2 separate regions of the Homo sapiens genome follow, and region 2 is linked to region 1. The links are contacts of gene promoters, found by promoter capture Hi-C in blood cells and fetal thymus (Javierre and others, 2016). All regions are on one chromosome and are shown on one strand. The core of a region is centred on a gene start or on the middle of the fragment in contact, and the rest is flanking DNA. Distances in the headings are between cores, read along the strand shown.

Region 1 (3,073 bases), core at 192-2,691:
TCTATCTAAGACTGTTAAACTCCTACACATCCCACAAGGCCAGCTCAAATGCCACCCCCTCCATTAAGCCCTCCCACAAAGCCTTCCACAAAGCACATTGTGTGTTTGCTTCCTGACCCCACAACCAGACTCCACCTGTCTGTTCCCCTAGCACTGAGCACAGAGGACCAAGCTGTGCATCCTCCCTCAGAGAAGGAAGCGGCCTCGAAAGTGGCCGTTACTTTCCCAAATAAAGGAGAAGGGGACAGAAGAGGGAAGGAAGGTGGAAGGGAAAGAGGAGGGGAGGGAAGTGAGGATAATAACTATACATTTTAAAATACGGATTAAATACTTATCTCCATTTTACAGATGAGAAGGTAAGGTCCAGGGAAGTCAAGTAACTTGCCCAGCCAGGATTCAAACCCAAGCAGCCTGGCTAGACGCCGGACTCTCAAAACCACCAAGAATGGATGTTGGAAGAGGGGGAGGAGGAAAGGAAGGCCGGGAGCCGACTGAAATTCCACCCTGTTCTGGTGGATTTATGACCCAGGCCGTGGTGTGAGGGCACTGGGCAGGGTGCTCTTCGCTGAATGCCGAGTGACAGATCCAAGATCTTGCCAGCTTGAGGCACAGAGGCACCTGCTCCAGGTGTGCCAGGAGATGCTGGGACCTGGCCTGACCTAGCGCAGGTAGGGAGGGCTGAAGACAGCAAATGCCCGAGTATTCAAGAGAGAGCATGGGGGGTGCTGTCCTGAGGGTGCAGCAACTTTAGGATGGCTCATCCCTTCTCTGCCGTTGGGCAGCTCTTCTCAGCAGCCTCCTCTCAGCCCTGTAGCCTCCCCGGGGTTACTGACTCTGTGGACCTGAAGCAGTGCCAACAAATGGTCTCTGAGCTGTACCTGTCCAGGCTAGGAAAGAGGGGGCTTGAAGTCTTCTGCCCCCTTCCCTTCGGTGTTTCTGTCACACGCCGACCCCCCAACATAATCAGCTCCGGTCTGGATAGTTGGAGAGCCCAGATCAGCCCTGGTTCGTTGTCCCCCAAGTCGTAAGTGTGACATCTGAACCCGCCTTGCCCCTTCCCTGTCTCCTCCCTGGAAGAAGGCAGAGCAATGGTTACACACGGCGTGTACACAAACAAGACACGCAGGCACCCCTGAGGCCTGGGCGCACCACTCAGGGCGGGCCTTGGGCCAAGCTCCCCAGCGTGGTCACTTGTCCAGTTGGAAGCAGGTTGGTGAGCGACTGGAGGGCCGGGCTGAGGGTCCAAGGGATCCCCCATGCACCCTAGGCCCAGTCTCCAGGAACCCTCAGAGGCCTGCAGACTCACAGAGAGACAGAAGGACAGATGGGACAGCAAGAGGCAGACCAAGAGGCAGACGCGCGGCCAGGCGGGGGCTCACCAGATGGAGCGCGGACAGTCCGGGGCTGGGCGGGCGCCGCGGCGGAGCAGCGCTAACGGGCTCCCTCCCCGGGCGCCCTGGGGCCTTTTTATCCGCCTCCCGCCCGCGGCCCCCCAGCCCCGAGCTGGCCGCGGAGGAGGCCCCGCAGGCCCCGCCCCGGGCGGGCCTGGAGTCCGCGGGCGCCCCGCCCGGCCTTCCGCGCGGCGCCCCCCGTCGGGACACAGGCCAGGTGGCGGGGGCGCCCAGCCGCAGCCGGCGGGGCCGGGAAGTCCCGGGGGGCGGGGGGAGCGGGGGGGCGGCGGGGGGTCGCGGGGAGCGGAGCTCTCGGGAAAGGGCGGCGCTGGGCCCGCGGCTGTTTTGCAGGGAGGGCCGCGGCGGCCTCGGGAGTCCCTCTCCCAGGCAGTTTCCTCTTTTGCAGAACAAGGTAATGACGCCCACCTAGAGTCCCAGTCTGTGAGTCCTGGTGGGTGCCAGGGCCCCCGGCACAGCACCCTTCGCACGGGAGCGCCCGGCTGTCACAGGGGCCGAATCTCACGAGCTCGGTCACTTAGGACAATGTAGACGCCCTTTCTGGGAGGCCGGGGCTCAGTTCAGAGAGGTCGAGGTGGCGCGGTGCAGCGGTGCTCTCCTGCAGGAACAGGCGAGTCACCCAGAGTTTACTGAATACCGCCCCCCCCCCCCCCCCCGCCCTCCGTGTGAAACTCTGCGCTGCCCATTGTGCAGCTGGGAACACTGAGCCCCAGGCGACATAACTTGCTCCTCCAGGCAATACACAGTGAATGGGAGAACCCCTTCACAGAGCTGAATGATGCAGTCCTGGCCCTTGTCAGACTCACGGGAGGAGGGTGTTAGTGCAGGGAGCAGGGACTGTAGAATTAAAGAAATGTGGACATGGCTGACAGAGAGGAGTCCCATCAGCTGAACTGAGCACCTAGGTGCCTGAACCCCAGTCCAAGCCCCCAGTTTCTTTCCCCTAGACCTGGTCCTGCCCTTAGCCTCACTGGCCCCATCTGTAAAATGGGCAGAGGGTTCCAGCCTCCCGGTTTCCTCCCTAGGCCCACAGCTGCCCAACCTGGTTCCCCCTCTTGCCCCCACCTTGCCTAAACGTCCTTCCAAAGGTTCATTCATCCCACAAGCCTTTATTGATTTTCTCCTACATGCTAGACAGGGTGCTGGAGTGCTAGACGCTGGAGGGGGCCTTCCCAGTCTGGTGGGGGAGGCAGATGTGCAAGTAAGAATAAGCCTGGACAGGCAGAGTGTGATAGAGCTAGGATGTCAAGATGGACCTTTTCGATCCTGGGTGACAGCCAGGTCTTAATGACCCTGCTGCCAGGGACCTGCCATCCACTCCTGGCTGCCCGTGTCCAAGATGTCCCCCCAGTGCCCCTGCCCCACCCCAGCTGGGCCCAAAACATTCCCCATGATGAATCAGCAGGAAAGAATGCTCCCAGCCTCGGGTCAGTGGCAGCAGCCCAGCTCCTCCCCCAGGGACAATGAGGCAGCTGTGGGCTTGGGTGCCAGGTATGCCTAAGCCCTCTCCTAGGGCCCAGCCACCTCTCATGCTGAGCCAGAAGCAACACAGAGGGTTCGGAAACGTGGGCTCTGCCTGCTGCCAATCACTCACCAGGCCTGGCTGCCCAGAACTAAAAATACCCTGGAGCGCAGGGGCGGGCGGAGGATAGAGACCAGGGAAT
Region 2 (2,912 bases), core at 299-2,798, 960 kb after region 1:
TTTTCAATGAAGGCCCAAGAAAATACAAGGGCATTTGCTCCTTTAGCTGATTTGTAAGGACAAGATATAACAAAATTCAGAAGGCTCTGAAAATCTGTCCCTGAGCCCTTTACATATAAAACTAGTTTACTTATAAGAAGGAACAGCAACGGGGATGATAGCCCTCCAAGAATGGACACTAATGCCTCTTCTATCCAATCTTAACAGTGTCAATAGCTCAAGAAACGCCAATACCCTCCATCGTGCCTCTTTGAAAGTACATCCCTCCACTTAAACAGGAAGTTCATAGATGTTAACACCTAACCTTCTAAACAAAAAATTTTCAATAGCATTTTCATTTTTTATCCCTAGTAAAAATGAGACCGTTCAAACCAAAAAAGATTGGCCTCTCAGATTGAAATAAGATTTCAAGTTTTCAAAGCCCTTCCAACACTTATCTAATCCCGTCAGGAAAGAAAGCTGGCATTTGTAATCCCATTTTAAAACAGAAAAAAAAAAATGCAACTCTGAGATTAGGCAATCTGAAGAAGAACTAACTGTGGAGATTTCCAAACCTTCCTCAACAAGGGACCAATTTAAAAGGGATTATTCCAGAAAACTTTAGAGTGGGTTTCAAAAACGGCTGAATTCCTTCTGTACCCTAATCACAGGAAGGCAAGAAATAAGAAAAACAGAAAGGCACTTTGCCTAGAATTTTAGCAATGAAATATGACTCTGACCTTTAATAATCTATGAACCTGGCTGAATTTTCTCAAAAAACCTGCTGCATCTACACCCCGCAGGAACAGCCTGTTAAGCAGTTTGGGCTACCAGCTCTCAGCCTCCAAGACAGCCGCCCAGCAAAAGGCCGGCAGCTGGGTGAGAACAACCTGGAGAACCCCCTTTGCGCAATGAGGTCAGGAGTTCCACACTGCAGTGTCTCCTCATCTGAAGCTTCCAACTTTTCATTTTCAGGCGAGGTGCAACCAGGCTCTCCAAATCTGCCCCAACGCGCGCGCGCGCATACACACACACACACACACACACACACACACACACACACACACGAACACACAGACACACGAACACACAGATACACAAACACAGCGGGTGCTTGCTTCCGCTCCCCAAATAAAGAATGGTAATCAAGTTTCTCACCATCCTCATAGTTTTTGAGATAGTAATCCGGGCCCGGGCCCCCGCGGCTTTTCGCCGGGTTCCTCAGGTTCTGGAACTGCAGGAAGTCGGTCCTTTTGCCCCCGAAGCGCAGAAAGGCGGGCGAAAGTCCCCGGGCCAGGGTCACCAAGCGCTTGGAGCTGCAGAGGAAGAGAATAAGAGAGGAAAGGTTCCCAGGACAGGACGAGAGCGCGTGGGGCACGGAGAAGGGCCCTCTTCCTACTCCCTGAGGGCGACCTGGCCGGGGCTAGAGGCTCTGTGCCTGCCCCAGCCGGCAGTCCACGCTGGCCCTTGGCCGCTGCCCTGCGCCCCAGCCCGCCCTCACCGCCCGGCTCTGGGGGCTGTGCCTCCCGCTTCCAGACGCCCGCAGCGGCCCCCTCCCGCAGACACCCAGATCCTGATCTCCTAAAGGCTACAGATAGTGTTTGTTCATAGAGTGTTTGTATGGGGTGGGTGTACGTGCTACGAGCACGGCGCTAAAGCGCAGTTGCCCGGCTTCTGCCACTGCCAGGAAAGCGCTCCGGGCGGAGACGCGCTAGGCGCGCCTACCTCTGGCTTCCGACCGTTGCCAAAAACTTGTATGCTGAAAGCCGGCATTGCCTCCGCAGCCCCAGGGGCCCCACAAACCTCCGTGCAGGAGGTGAAACCTGCCTTGTTTCTCTCAGACCAGGCCCGGCGCCTGAGCTTAAGTGGATTCCTACTTTCTTTCTTTTAATGTCCGAGTTGATTTTCCTTTTTCACTATATTGTAAAAACTGCATTGTTTCCCAAATCCCCGGACGGAGAGATCCCCAGGGTAAACCCTCGCCTTTCCAAGAACACTTCTCCACTCCCGCACCACCACCACCACCACCACACACACACACAGTAAAGGCAAAGTCTCTTTGGCCCCTGAAATAATTCCGCCTGATCTCAGGAAAGGTAACATCCTCCTCCCCACCCCACCCCCGAGTTAGGCTCCATCTTTCTTCTTTCCCACTTGGGGCCGTTTGGAACCGCTAGGGAAAATGAAGCTTGCCGAAATGTGGAACCTGCGCGTTATGGGATACTAAATGAGCACAAAACAATAGCATTTGCATCTATTTAAGGTCAGGATTTCCATCAATAGGTTTTTTAAAAGCCAAAGGCTGCTGCTTTGGGAAGGAGTAGAAAAGGAGCAATGCAGATACTGATAATGCAGAGGGGATCAGCTGTTGAGTTCCGGGTCTGTAAATTATTTTTTAACGCTTTACTGTTTCAGATTCTGAAAACCCAAATCCACATGGTGACGTTAAAGAGCATCATAAAGGAGGTGGATACGAGAAAGAAAAAACAGACTCTGCTTTTGGAGAGTTTTTTGAGAAGAGACGTGGCTACCCCAGGGTCTTGTAACCAGAATGGTCGTTTGGCAGAAGTCTCCGGGACCGCACTCCAGGACAGGCACAGTCAGGGCGTCGCGTGGGCCTACTGTGGCAAAGGAGACGTCCGCGCGAATCCGGTCCTGGGGAAAGGGCAGTTCCAACAACCTTTCATCCAGAAGCCTGCACAGCCAATGCGAATGCGCCCCGCCAGGACTTCTTCCCCGAAAATCTGCCTTCCAGACTCTTTTCTGAGGCAGGAAAGCATTAGGCGAACAGGCAGATTTTTTAAAAAAAGAAAGAAAGCTGGTGGGGGAAAGGGGGTCTGCGCAGCTGAAGGAGTTCAATGAAAGTGGGACAAGCGTTGCGGAAAACTCCGTTGCACCCTACATTCGGACGAGCTCATAGACGCGCTCTGCTG

What was found. The method cuts DNA at HindIII sites, captures the fragments that hold promoters and counts their contacts. A CHiCAGO score of 5 or more calls a contact.
Region 2: a contact is called between a fragment that was not itself captured here and the fragment with the promoter of LOXL4 in region 1, in 1 of 17 cell types (naive B cells). The highest score is 5.7, in naive B cells.

The regions. Positions count from the first base shown.
Region 1 is chr10:98,266,753-98,269,825 of GRCh38, forward strand. It overlaps LOXL4 (lysyl oxidase like 4), which reads right to left and starts at 1,442. Exons shown (of 15, transcript NM_032211.7): 1 at 1,380-1,442. It overlaps LOC124902489 (a long non-coding RNA gene), which reads left to right and starts at 1,690. Exons shown (of 2, transcript XR_007062260.1): 1 at 1,690-3,073. RefSeq lists enhancers at 388-889, 890-1,389. The HindIII fragment of the contact is 15,496 bases long and covers 1-3,073 here.
Region 2 is chr10:99,231,211-99,234,122 of GRCh38, forward strand. HPSE2 (heparanase 2 (inactive)) reads right to left here. Exons shown (of 12, transcript NM_021828.5): 2 at 1,138-1,295. Among named protein-coding and RNA genes, the nearest start is that of HPSE2, 3.2 kb to the right of the region's middle. The HindIII fragment of the contact is 1,234 bases long and covers 932-2,165 here.